Linked DNA regions of Homo sapiens: regions 1 and 2 are each linked to region 3. The links are contacts of gene promoters, found by promoter capture Hi-C in human tissues and cell types (Jung and others, 2019). All regions are on one chromosome and are shown on one strand. Each heading gives the region's core, a stretch centred on a gene start or on the middle of the fragment in contact. The rest is flanking DNA. Distances are from core to core; before and after follow the strand shown. Region 1 holds the start of LGALS13 (galectin 13). Region 2 holds the start of EID2 (EP300 interacting inhibitor of differentiation 2). Region 3 overlaps LEUTX (leucine twenty homeobox).

Region 1 (4,845 bases), core at 1,079-3,578, 180 kb before region 3:
CAGACCAATGGAACAGAATGGAAAGCCCTAAATAAGGCCACAAACCTACAACCATCTGGTCTTCAACAAAGCTGACCAAACAAGCAATGGAAAAAGGACTCCCTATTCAAGAAATGGTGCTGGGAGAACTGGCTAGCCATATGCAGAAGATTGAAACTGGACCCCTTCTTTACACCATATACAAAAGATAGATTAAAGACTTAAAAGATTAAACCCAAAACTATAAACATCCTGGAAGACAACCTAGACAATACCATGTGGGACATAGGCATGAGAAAAATTTCATGATGAAGATGTCAAAGGCAATTAGGAGAAAAGCAAAAATTGACAAACAGAATCTAATTAAACTAAAGAGCTTCTGTACAGTGAAGGAAACTATCAAGAGAGTAAACAGACAGCCTAAGGAATGGGAGAAAATGTTCTCAAACTATGTATCTGAAGAAGGTCTAATATCCGAGCATTTATAAGAAATTTCAACAACTTCACGAGAAAGAAACAAACAAACCCATAAAAAAGTGGGTAAAGAGCTTGACACAGTGGCTCATGCCTGTAATCCCAGCGCTTTGGGCAACCAAGGCTGGTGGATCACTTGAGCCCAGGAATTTGAGAACAGGCTGGGTAACATGGCAAAAACCCATCTCTACTAAAAATAGAAAAAAAAAATAGCCTAGCATGGAGACATGCACCTGTAGTCCCAGCTACTCAGGAGACTGAGCTTAGAAAAATCACCTGAGCCCCGGAGCCAGAGGTTACAGTGAGCCAAGATGGTGCCACATCACTCCAGCCTGAATGTCAGAGTGAGACCTGTTTTAAAACAACAACAAAAAAGTTGAGCAAAGGACACGAACAGACACTTTTCAAAAGTAAGGATACAGGTGGCCAAAAAACATATAAAAAAGCTCAATATCACTGAACATTAGAGAAATGCAAATCAAAACCACAGTGAGATACCATCTCACACCAGTCAGAATGGCTGTTATTAAAAAGTCAAAAAAGGACAGATGCTTCAAGGTTGTGGAGAAAAGGGAGAACTCACACATTGTTGGTGACAGTGTAAATTAGTTCACCCATTGTGGAAAGCAGTGTGGTGATTCCTCAAAGAGCTAACAATAGATCTACCATTCAACCCAGCAATCCCATCACTGGGTGTATACCCAGAAGAAAAGAAATCATTCTGCCATAAAGACATATGCACATGAATGTTCATTGCAACACTATGCACAATAGCGAAGACACAGAATGAACCCAAATGCCAATCAATGACAGATCGGTTACAGAAAATGTGGTACATGTACACAATGAAATACTATGCAGTCCTAAAAAAGAATGATATTATGTCTTTTGCAGGAACATGGATGGAACTGGAGGCCATTATTCTTAGCAAACTAATGCAGGAACAGAAAACCAAATACTGCATGTTCTCACTTATCAGCGTGAACTAAATGAGGAGGCTCATGGACATCAAGAGGGAAACAACACACACTGGGGCCTCCTTGAGGGTGGAGGATGAAAGGTGGAAGAGGAGAAAAAAAATAACTTTTGAGTACTACACTTAGTAACCAGGTGAAGAAATCATATACACCACAAATCCCATGACACGACTTTATCTGCATATGTACCCCGAACCTAAAATAAAATGAAAGAAAAATCAAATAAAAACAACAATCTCACCTTCCTCCCAGAATCTGCAGGAGAAACAGTGTCTCTGAAACTTTTATTTACATGGACACCAAGAGAAAGGAGAGGGTGTAGCTAGAGCCCAGGTGTGTGACAGTCAGGTGAGAGTGGCCCTTACCTGGCAGAGCCAAGCAGCCTAGTGTGGAATAGGTTCATGCAAGAAATTTCTCTGCTTCTCTCCACAGATCCTCCTGAGGATCAAGGTCAGTGCTCTCCCAGAACGTTCAAAAGCAGAGAGAATCATTACCTTCTAGGGCTAATGTATTTCCCCAAAATCTCCAACTTTTTTCTTTTCAGCCGTTGTACAAATTGGGAAAATGTACACTTTCTGGGTATATTCTGCATAGATGAGAAAAGGCTTGAGAGGCATAAAGGCTGGGCTTTACAACCACTACCGCTCACTCCATCATCTTTATCTATGCATTTCCCTGGTAACCCAATCCACAGCCTGGTAACTCCCCCACTGTCACTTCTGCTGCATTACAGATACAGACCTGCAAATAGCTATGGTTGTGACTGAGTTTCTTCCTAACAACTAAACCTGTCTAAAGCTGCAAGGAAATCTTGCTGGGAGGAGCTTGGAATCTGGAATGAAGCCCGAGGGCAAGGCTGAAGTGGGTCATTTAAATGCTGCAACTCAGAGATTCACTCAGAAGACTGGACTCAATTCTGAAGGTCGCCAAGAAGGAGAGAACAATGTCTTCTTTACCCGTGAGTTGAAAAGGCACAGCCTTCAAAAATTTCGTGTCACACAAACCAAGAAAGAAATGGGAGATTTTATGAGATGAAAATATGAGCATTTTTGCTGTGAATGCTTTACTTAGAGCTATTGAGGTGTGGAATAGAAACCCTGAGGCTATGGTATCTGAGATGCTTGTGGGGATTGCGGTGTGGACCCTGGACCAGTGTAACCTTCGGTGAGTGTGAGGTGGTGTCTGATGAGCATAAACTCTGCGGAGATAATGTGACTTTAAGTGGGAGGTGGATTACCCACCAGGACGAGCAGGTGTGTGAATGGAGAGTAAAGGGGTGAGTCGGCTTTGTTTCCTGTCTATGATGTGAGTATGTGTGTGAGCACAGCCAGACCAGTGCATGAGCATCGTTATGTGCACAGTGAGCAGGTGTGTGTGACGCAGTGAGTGGTGTGGCTCTGTGTGACTGTGAGTGTGTGTGCTGGGATGTGACTGTATGTTGAAGTGGGATCATGCATGTGGCTTTCTTCACATGTGAATGTTTCTCCCCACACAGCAGCACCTCTGATGTGAATCCCATGTGGCTTAACTGGTGGGGATCTTGGGGATTGTGAGTTACCAAGGACTTATTTCAGATCACTTGTGAGAGCAGAATGTATGATCAGTAGATGTCTCTTCCCAGTAAGAGTGGGGAAGAGGAATGCAGACTATGGGGGTGATGGTTCCTCAGGTGGGGTCTGCACAGAGTGACCACTGTCTCTTGCCTCCCAGGCTCAGCTTGCCTGTCCCTAGCCCATCCAGTTCTTCCCACTGTGTGACAGGAGGGTGTGCAGATACTGGTTTGTTAGGGAAGGACATTAGAGGCCGTGATTTCAGAGACTGAATCACACAAAATATCCACTGTAAGCTCTGTCTGAACTGAGACTAAACTTGTTCTACACCCATGAAAGAACAAGTTAAGTCTCAGTTCAGAAGGAGCTTACAGTGGATATTAATCAACCAAGCAGCTGGGTTCACTGGCTTATGGCTATAATCCCACCAATTTTGGAGGCAAAGATGAGAGGATAACGAGGCCAGAAGTTTGAGACCAGTCTGGGTATCAGAGTGAGACCCTTTCTTTAAAAAACTTTAAATATTTGACTGGCAGAGAGGCAGGTACCTTTCTTCCCAGCTATTCAAGAGGGAGCAGATGTGTGAGATTCACTGCAGCCCAGGAGTCTGAGGTTTCAGTGAACCATGATTGCATCCCTGCATGTCAGCCTGGGTGACAGAGCAAGAACCTATCTCAAAAGTACAGAAAAATCATCTCATCTACTTGTAGTCATCATAGAAATCAATCATTCCCTCCAGTTATGTCCCTGACCCACAAGCTTCATTTGTGCAAGTACTGGGGCTGTGCTCTCAGTAGTGTGTGCCCCTTCTTGGAAGGATGTCCATGGCCCTTGATGATAGTGATGCATGTGCATCCCACACACAGGGGTTTCCTGTTCTTTCATCATTTCCCTCTCCCTTTCAACAAGTGTTGTTTCTCACTGGAGTGAATGTTTAAATTCTTACATTTACAAGTCTTGTTTTAATTTTCAGAGTTGAAAATGAAGGCAGGTCAGTCTTTCAAGAGGACTCTCCTGTCCTGTTAGGTCACCCTAAGAGGCCCTACGCATGACAGGGATTAGGGTAACACTTTTACATGTATTAACTCCCTATTACGGAGAACATCCTACAAAGTAGAAATTCCTGATAATCCTCGTTGTCCTAGGGAAAATGAGGGAGAGTTCAAGTAGCAAATCTAAGACTGCACTGCTAGTAAAAGGCAGAATGAGGACTGGAATCCAGGCATCCTGGCTCCTGAACCCTTGCTCTAACTTATGGGTCCGCCATATCTTCAGGAATATGGGGCCCTGAATGCGGTAGGGTTAAAGAGGAGAGTCCACAGAGTCTGCCCTTTCATCTCCAACCTCCTGCACCATGAGAATATGTTACAGGAGGGGAGACTGCACCTGACCCTGCACCTCTCACTTACTCTCAATACTCTGGCAGGTGCCATACAAACTGCCTGTGTCTTTGTCTGTTGGTTCCTGCGTGATAATCAAAGGGACACCAATCCACTCTTTTATGTGAGTACTCCATGGTCCAATGGAGGGGTTGGAGAAGAAGGGAGAATATTTGCGAAGATTTGACCTTACATGTGGGTGATGTGGAAATGTCTAGTTGGCAGAATGGAGGCCCCATGCAGGTGCAGGTCTTGGAGACCCTCCAGCACCAGGCATGAGACCCACAGCAACTGCATGTGGGCCAGCCATGGGGCCTACAGGAGGAGAACACTCAGTGGGTTGGGGCTGTGGCTCTTTATCAGGGGGCATAGAATTTTCGGGAATGAACAAGTCATAGGCCCAGGTCAGTGACTGTGGCTCAGTTTTCATCTGGGGATGAGGAGCACAGAATCTCCCTGCCTGGGGGCATGAGGAGCTGAAGCATC
Region 2 (4,803 bases), core at 1,866-4,365, 240 kb before region 3:
AAACCCATGTTAAAAATACAAAATGAGCCAGGTGAAGTGGCATGTGCCTGTAATTCCCGTTATTTGGGAAGCTGAGGCACGAGAATCGCTTGAACCTGGGAGGCGGAAGTTGCAGTGAGCTGAGATGGTACCACTGCACTCCAGCCTGGGCGAGAGAGTGAGACTTTGTCTAAAAAAAAGAGTATGAACAGAGAGTTTATGGAAAAGGGAATATATATGACTCTTAAAAGATATTTAACTGGCTGGGTGCGGTTGCTCACGCCTATAATCCCACCACTTTGGGAGGCCGAAGTAGGTGGATCACCTGAGGTCAGGAGTTCAAAACCAGCCTGGCCAGCATAGTGAAACCCCATCTCTACTAAAAATACAAATTAGCCAGGTGTGTTGGTGCATGCCTGTAATCCCAGCTCTTGGGAGGCTGAGGCAGGAGAATCCCTTGAGCCTGGGAGGTGGAGGTTGCAGTGAGCCAAGATCGCACAATTGCACTCCAGCCTGGACAACAAGAGTGAAACTCCCATCTCAAAAAAAAAAAAAAATTTAACTTCGCTCATCATAAAAGCGAATTAAAACTGATATACCATTTTTCAACTATCAGATTCGCAAAAGCCAGATATTATTGATGATTTAGTGTGTTGGCTGGGCTGTAACGAAACATCTATGATCATTAATTGCTGGTGGGAGTGCAAAGCAGGACACATATAGAATGCTGCATAGCAATATTCATAAAATCTCAAAGGAGTAACTTTGGCCCAGAATTCTCATTTCTGGGGCATCAGCCTACAGATATTACATGTAAAAAGGAATCTAGGTAGCTATTGATCATGAGACACATCATTAGGGCTGGGCGCGGTGGCTCACACCTGTAATCCCAGCACTTTGGGAGGCCAAGGTGGGCAGATCACAAGGTCAAGAGATCAAGACCATCCTGGCCAACATGGTGAAACCCCGTCTCTACTAAAAATACAAAAATTGACCAGGTGTTGTGGTGGGCGCCTGCAGTCCCAGCTACTCAGGAGGCTGAGGCAGGAGAATCACTTGAACCTGGGAGGCGGAGGTTGCAGTGAGCCGAGATTGCGCCACTGCACTCCAGCCTGGCGACAGAGTGAGACTCCCTCTTAAAAAAAAAAAATCACTAGTTTCGTGAAAACCCAAGGAAAAAATGATCTATTACAGCATCAAATATAAGATGCACCCACATTTCAGAGATGTTCAAATATGAAGTGAATTTTGAATTGAAGCAATACTATATTTGTGCACATGCCACATGATATACAAGATGAACTACTCTAGCAATTGTACAAGATGAACTACTCTAGCAATTTTTTATTCTGCCCAAAGAAAGAGATGGGAAACAACCTAAATGTCCGTCAATATATCCCTGGTTAAGTAAATTTGGACATAACCTCAGAATGGAATAAAATGCCACTTTAAAAAATAATGAGGAAATACAGTGGTTTGGAAGGGTCAACATATGTTCTTAATGAGAAAGCAATGTATAAACCAGTAAATATAATATGCCGACTTCTGTGAAGAAATAAAACAAGTAAACCCAGATTTATATGTGCCTGTGTACACGTAAGGAAACTAGAAGGACGGAAAGGAAACTGTGGCTATTAGAGGTCATCGTTGGTACTGGATGGAGGAAAACAAGAATGGAAGGCTTTTCGCTGTATATTTTATATATTTTTTGGCTTGTGAATAGATTTTTTAATACCAAAAAAACTTTAAAAATTAAAAATTGAAAGAAAAAAGTCCAGAAATTTGACGTTCTTGAAAACATGATTTATCACATAATATATACATTTACTTTGCTTGTCACTTGAAATGCCTAAGAAAACACAAAATCAATCTTAAACTAGAAACTTCTATTGAATATGACATGAAGAGAGCACATATTCCGACAATTTCAAGTTCTTTTCATAGCCTTCCAGTCCTAATAACTCAGCGTTAACATCTTATTCTGTTCAGCACTATTTGATAATTTCTTTCATCCTCATGGGCTCTAGTATTGATGTTTCATCAGTCTCAATTTTATAAAACCATCCTTTACTTTGTAATAAAGCAATGCTGAGAGACATTTTCCATAATGCAGGGGGAAAAATGTGGATCAATCACAAACTCAAAGAACGTTACAGTTATAATGCTTTCGACATTTTTTTCTACTTCTGTGATGCTTTTTCAAGATAAGCTTCCCCCTCCCCCTTTTTTTCCCCTCCACCTGTGCACTGTCTTATCGCGATATACTCTTGACTTCTGAAAATCAAGTTGCAGGATTGGTATGACTGGAATGCAGAGGTTCTCTTGAAGTAGTGTCACCACATAACTATTCTCTATTGATAAACTTATCGCAACCAAGTTCTTCTATCAGAGGGTTGATAACTTCAGAGGCAGTCAGAGCTATCGTAAAGGTTAAAATATCGAGGTCCACCCTGTGAGGATTTCGCTGATATTCGGCATCAAACGCTGCTTCCCTTGCTCTGCAGGCTTCCACGAATCGCCTGCGGCGTTCTTCAAGCTCTTGTATTCTGCCGGGAGCAATCGGGTAATTTTCCAGATAGTGGCGGAGAAACTGCTGGTAATTGATGCCTAAAACGCTAAGTGGGTGGCGGAGACGGAGATAGGGCAACGCAGCCAGGCCTCCGTTCCCGTGTCTGGACCTGGGCCTGCCCTCGGGACCCTCTTCGTCCACTGGCTCCCCCAGCAAGCGGGCGACCTCCGCCATCCGGGCTTCCCTGGCCGCCGCCGCCGCCGGGCTTTCCCTGCCCGCCGCGGCTGCCCTGGCCAACGCCGCCGCTGCCACCGGGGCTCCCCTGGCTGCCGCCGCCGGGGCTGCCCTGGCCGCCGCCATCCGACCTTCCCTGGCCGCCGGCACCGGGCCTCCCCTGGCCGCCGCCATCGCGCCTTCCCCGGCCTCCTCAGGCTGTGCCGGGGCCGGCTCCCGCCTCCCGCGGCCTACCTCCGCCTGCGGGACGTCTCTGTCACCATTCGCCGCGCCTGTCTGCGGGACACTGCTGTCTGCGGGCAGCTTGGACATCTCAGACCGTGGGGTCAACTCGGCTGCTCCCAGAGAAACTGGAATAACTGGACAGAGCGATGCCCGGCGGACACCCCAGTGCGCGTGCGTGGGCGCTATGCGCGCTGTAAATGCAGTGTGCGTAACCGGGCGCGAGAGCATAGATTCTTACCGCAAACCCTGGGAGCAGTGCGCATGCGTACTTTCCCGGCGCCCGCCGTTCTCCAGATGCCCCCTCGAGGCCGGGAAGCGCCAACGCATCTGAAACATCCCAACGACGAAGGGCGGGGGACATTTCAACCAGTTTGATGTTTATGAGGAACGCTTACAAGATCGCTTCTTGTAGGCGTTCTCAAGGTTCTGTCCTAGGGTGTTTCTCTTTGTTCTCCAGTGATTATGTGCCACCTCTATTATATATCAAGATATTTTAGATTCATGGTCTTTTCTGGATTTTTAAATTGTTTTTCATTCATTCCTTTGCCTGTCTTCATCCATACGGATCGTCCTAGCTACCAAAGCTTTGTAATTACAGTCTTTTCGTGTTATCTTTAACATTGCATTGACTACCTTGGACATTTGTTTTTCGAATCTTATTTGTGCAATATAACATGCAGAAAAGTAAACAAAACATAAATATACAGCTGAATGATTTATCACAAAGTGAACATCCGTTTAACTACCACACAGTCCAAGAAGTGGAATATTTCCAGCATCCCAGAACCCTTCCTCTTCTTCTTATCACTATCCTTTCCTTTCTACGCAGAAGTAACAACTATGCTGATACTTATGGTAATCACTTTCTTGTTTTTCTTTTCATTTTACCACCTAAGGGTGCATTCCTAATGCTGTAGTTTAGTTTGGTTTGTATTCTGAACTTTATCTATGTGAGAAACACACTCACCTGCGTAATTTTTGTATTTTTAGTAGAGACGAGGTTTCACCATGTTGGCCAGGATGGTCTCGATCTCTTGACCTCGTGATCCGCCTGCCTCGGCCTCCCAAAGTGCTGGGATTACAGGCGTGAGCCACTGCGCCGGCCACTTTCTTCCCTTTTATGGGCTGACCCCGCCTCTACATTCTGTTCCCTTATTGTGACCTTCTAGGTGGATGAGCCCTGCAGTTTGTTATATTTGCAGGCTGGCTGCCAGTACTTAGATTTATCATGCCTCAGAAATGGACCATTTAAAATGTTTTCTCACATACACACTTGTATCTGTTTTTTTGTGCATTATTTTTATGAGATTCATCCATTCACATTTTCTCTTCCTCCCTCCCTCCCTCACTCCCTTCCTTCCTTCCTTCCTTCATTCCTTCTTTCTTTCATCTCATTCTGTTACCCAGACTGGAGTGCAGTGGCACAATCACAGCTCAACGTGGCCTCAACCTTCCGAGCTCAAATAATCCTCCCACTTCAGTCTCCTGAGTACCTGGGACTACAGGTGTACACCACCACACCCAGTTAATTTTTAATTTTTTTGTAGAGACAGGGTCTCCTTATGTTGCCCAGGCTGGTCTCAAAGTCCTGGGCTCAAACGACCCGCCTGTCTCAGCCTCCCAAAGTGCTGGGATTATAGGGTGAGCCAGAGCACTCGGCCTCCAGCCTACATTTTCATTATGGTTTATAAATACTTTATTTTCTTGATAGTTATTATATTCATTACCATTTTTTTTATGAAGTCTCGCTCTGTTGCCCAAGCTGAAGTACAGTGGTGTGATCTTGGGTCACTGCAACCTCTGCCTCCCAGTTCCAGTGATTCTCCTGCCTCAGCCTCCTGAGTAGCTGGGATTAC
Region 3 (4,488 bases), core at 1,559-4,058:
GACTCATATAAACCTGGTGTCAACATCATGCCACTATTCTATTCTATCTCAATAAGGACTCACCCAAATCTCATCTTGAATTGTAGCTCCCATAATTCCCATGCGTTGTGGGAAGGATCCGGTGGGAGATAACTGAATCATGGGGCGGTTTCCCCCATACGGTGCTCATGGTAATGAATAAGTCTCATAAGATCTGATGGTTTTATAAGAGGTTTCCCCTTTTGCTTAGGTCTCATTCCCTCTCTTGCTTGCCACCACGTAAGATGTGGCTTTGCTCCTCCTTGCTTTCCACCATGATTGTGAGGCCTCCCCAGCCATGTGGAACTGTGAGTCCATTAAACTTCTTTCCTTTATAAATTACCCAGTTTCAGGTATGTCTTTATTAGCAGCATGAGAAACAGAAAGATGTCCCCAAGTTGCTAGGAAAACATATTGGTGCCCAATGTCATGGAGAGGTTGATGTTCCTCCTCCAGGGGCTGTAGGATGAGGCCACCAAAATAAGCTTATCCCATCTGTGGCTTAAAAACATGTCCTGCTCAGTGGAAGTTGGCACTGATTTTCTAGGAATGCAGAACACTCCCAGCAAGAGAGTGAGGAGTGGGTCTCGTGAGTCAAATGTTTAGCCTAAGCTCTTGATTCACAGGTCAAGCTTAGGAAAGAAGCTTACCTTTGGAATATACATATTTGCATTCTAATAAAACATTTTTAAATTTTTTTTTGTATTTTCGTAGGCTATTGGGGAACAAGTGGTGTTTGGTTACATGAGTAAGTTCTTTAGTGGTGATTTGTGAGATTTTGGTGCACCCACCAACCGAGCAGCATACACTGCACCATATTTGTAGTCTTTTATCCCTCACCCCCTTCCCACCCTTTCCCCCGAATCCCCAAAGTCCATTGTGTCATTCTTATGCCCTTACATCCTCATAGCTTAGCTCCCACTTATGAGTGTGAACATATGATGTTTGGTTTTCCATTCCTGAGTTACTTCACTTAGAATAATGGTCTCCAATCTAATCCAGGTTGTTACAAATATCATTAATTCATTTTTATGGCTGAGTGGCATTCCATCATATAATTTATATATATATAAATTATATATATATAAATTATAATATTTGTATTATATATAATTATATACAATATAATTTATATACATTATACATAAATTATTATATATATATACATATATATATATACACACACACACACACACACCACAGCTTATCCACTCAATTGATGGACATTTGGGTTGGTTCCACATTTTTACAATTGCGAATTGTACTGCTATAAACATACATGTGCAAGTATCTTTTTTGTATAATGACTTATTTTCCTCTGGGTAGATAGCCAGTAGTTGGATTGCTGGATCGAATGGTAGTTCTACTTATAGTTCTTGAAGGAATCTTTACACTGTTTTCCATAGTGGCTGTACTAGTTTACACTGCCACCAGCAGTGTAGAAGTGTTGCCTGTTCACTGCATCCACGCCAACATCTATTTTTTTTTATTTTTTTTATTATGGCCATTCTTGTGGTTTCGATTTGCATTTCCCTAATCATTTGTGATGTTGAGCATTTTTTCATGTTTGTTGGCCATTTGTATATCTTTTGAGAATTATCTATTCATGTCATTCATGTCCTTAGCCCACTTTTTGATGGAATTGTTTGGTTTTTTTCTTGCTAATTTGTTTGAGTTCGTTGCAGATTCTGGATATTAGTCATTTGTCAAATGTATAGATTGTGAAGATTTTCTTCTAGACTGTGGGTTGTCTAGAACTCTGCTGTTCCTTTTGCCATGCAAAATCTCTTTAGTTTAATAAAGTCCTAGCTATTTATCTTTGTTTTTATTGCATTTGCTTTTGGGTTCTTGGTCATTGTGTTGCTGTCTATCTCATTTCTTAGGTCTAGTGGATAAAAGGGCGTCCATTGTCTCCTAAAGTTTTTATTATTTTTTATTTATGCTCTCTATTTCACTGAAGATTTCTCCCCTCATTTCTTGTATCTTTTTTTTTAATTTCCTTAAATTGGGCTTCACTTTTCTCTGGTGCCTCCTTGATTAGCTTAATAACTGACCTTCAGAATTCTTTTTCAGGTATATCACGGATTTCTTCTTGGTTTGGATCCATTGCTGATGAACTAATGTGATTTTTTGGGGATGTTAAAGAACCTTGTGTTGTCATATTACCAGATTTGGTTTTCTGGTTCCTTCTCATTTGTGTAGGCTCTGTCAGAGGGACGGTCTAGGGCTCAAGGCTGTTGTTCAGATTCTTTTGTCCCACAGGTGTTCCCTTGATGTAGTACTCTCCTCATTTCCTTCCGAATTTTTTTAATGAAAGCCTTTTATCTGTTCCCTCTGCAGAAGGGCCAAGGCGTTATCGTCGGCCACGCACAAGATTTCTCTCCAAACAACTCACAGCATTGAGAGAATTGCTTGAAAAGACCATGCACCCAAGTTTGGCTACAATGGGGAAACTGGCTTCAAAGCTACAACTTGATCTATCCGTAGTAAAGGTCTGTTCCCAAGTGTGTCTGTAGGTAGCACGCCTAACCCAGAGCTTCACACACACTTTTGATCATTGTTATAACAGTTCCTATTTATTGGCAATTGCTATGTGTAAGGACAGATGTTAAGCACTTTATATTTTTATTGTCATGAGCACCCACTTTATTGAGGAACACTAAAGCTCACATAGAAGAGCTGTCTTCCAAGCATTATAAACACAAGAGTTGGAATTTGAACCCAGACCTTTCCAACTCCAGACCCACCATGCTACACAGGACTCTTTGAGGCTGGATCTCAGATACTCCCATTTGGGTCTGTTCTTGTGTATTCAGGATGGGTTCTGCTTAATCAGGACCATCACAGTCATCCAGATGCCTGTCACTAAGTTCCCACAAAGTATTCATGGGAGAACACCTGGATGAACCCTAAAGATGACCCAAGCTAAACTCTCACCCCATACTCTGACTTTAAAATACTTTCTCTGGGCACCAGGAATGGTGGCTCACACTTGTAATCCCAGCACTTTGGGAGGTGGAGGCAGGAGGATCGCTTAAGCCCAGTTTAAGACCAGCCTGGGCAACATAGCAAGACCATGTCTTTACAAACAAAAATTAAAAATTAACCAGACATGGAGGCACATGGCTGTAGTCCCAGCTACTTGGGAGACTGAGATAGGAGGATTGCTTAAGCCCAGGAGTTCAAGGCTGCAGCGAGCTATGATTGCAGCACTGCACTCCAGGCTGGGTGACAGAGTGGTAGCTTGTCTCAAAAAAAAAAAATACACCACTAATAAAAACACCCTTCTATTTAATACATCACAATCTAGGTCATATTCCACCCATTGCTAGTACAATCCTACACCCACTTTTCCCTTGAAACCCAGGACAGCAGAGAGTAGAAAGGGCTTCCCTTGTTCCAATAAATGTGAGACTCTCTCTCACACCAAAAAACCGAATTCCTGAGGAACATGAGGATGCCCCTTTATACTCAACATCCATTATTAACCTCCCCCCTCCTCCCTCCTTAGATCTGGTTCAAGAACCAGCGTGCCAAATGGAAGAGGCAGCAGCGGCAGCAAATGCAGACACGGCCATCACTAGGGCCAGCAAACCAGACAACTTCAGTGAAGAAGGAGGAGACTCCCTCAGCCATAACTACTGCAAACATTCGTCCAGTAAGTCCTGGAATCTCTGATGCAAATGACCATGATCTACGTGAGCCTTCTGGTATCAAGAATCCTGGAGGAGCCAGCGCCTCTGCGAGGGTTTCATCCTGGGATTCTCAGTCATATGACATTGAACAGATATGTCTGGGGGCTTCAAATCCTCCTTGGGCCTCCACTCTCTTTGAAATAGATGAATTTGTAAAGATCTATGACTTGCCAGGGGAAGATGACACCAGCAGCCTAAATCAATATCTTTTTCCAGTATGCCTTGAGTATGACCAGCTCCAATCTTCAGTGTAACTTCTTACACATCACTTCTAGGGGAGGTCTGGATCTGACCCACTGAGACATATTTCCACACATCTTTAATGGTTTGACCCCAGTCTAAGTAGATCAGGGGCTGGGAATTTATCTTTTTCTGTAGAAAAAACAATAAAGGAACTCCCCTACCTTTCATCATTGCCTGCATTTTCTGAACTCCATTTGAGTGCCTCCTCACCCAAATTTCAGCATTAAAGATTGTATTCAGAGAAGTGACGCCAGGAACACAGTGACATAGGAGGTTCCTGATTGATGGACTGAATAAACGTCTGTGCCTACATCAGTTCTCTCTGGAAGAAAGTCAGAAGTGAGTGGAGAGACTCCTACACACCAGGCAACTAAGAAAATGTCTTAGCAGGCCAGTCGCGGTGGCTCACGCCTGTAATTCCAGCACTTTGGGAGGCCAAGGTGGGTGGATCACGAGGTCAGGAGATCAAGACCATCCCGGCTAACATGGTGAAACGCTGTCTCTACTAAAAATACAAAAAATTAGCTGGGTG

The links. The method cuts DNA at HindIII sites, captures the fragments that hold promoters and counts their contacts. A contact is called where the count stands out against the background at its distance.
Region 1: a contact is called between the fragment with the promoter of LGALS13 here and a fragment that was not itself captured in region 3, in 2 of the 25 tissues and cell types used here (mesendoderm cells and thymus).
Region 2: a contact is called between the fragment with the promoter of EID2 here and a fragment that was not itself captured in region 3, in 1 of the 25 tissues and cell types used here (H1 embryonic stem cells).

The regions. Positions count from the first base shown.
Region 1 is chr19:39,600,196-39,605,040 of GRCh38, forward strand. LGALS13 (galectin 13) reads left to right here and starts at 2,329. Exons shown (of 4, transcript NM_013268.3): 1 at 2,329-2,388; 2 at 4,407-4,483. The coding sequence starts at 2,374. The HindIII fragment of the contact is 10,640 bases long and covers 1-4,845 here.
Region 2 is chr19:39,537,046-39,541,848 of GRCh38, forward strand. EID2 (EP300 interacting inhibitor of differentiation 2) reads right to left here and starts at 3,116. Exons shown (of 1, transcript NM_153232.4): 1 at 1,662-3,116. The coding sequence starts at 3,034. The coding sequence ends at 2,324. RefSeq lists a silencer at 2,821-2,900 and an enhancer at 2,872-3,371. The HindIII fragment of the contact is 2,915 bases long and covers 2,860-4,803 here.
Region 3 is chr19:39,782,169-39,786,656 of GRCh38, forward strand. LEUTX (leucine twenty homeobox) reads left to right here. Exons shown (of 3, transcript NM_001382345.1): 2 at 2,359-2,510; 3 at 3,530-4,123. The coding sequence ends at 3,967. Among named protein-coding and RNA genes, the nearest start is that of LEUTX, 5.6 kb to the left of the region's middle. The HindIII fragment of the contact is 5,263 bases long and covers 178-4,488 here.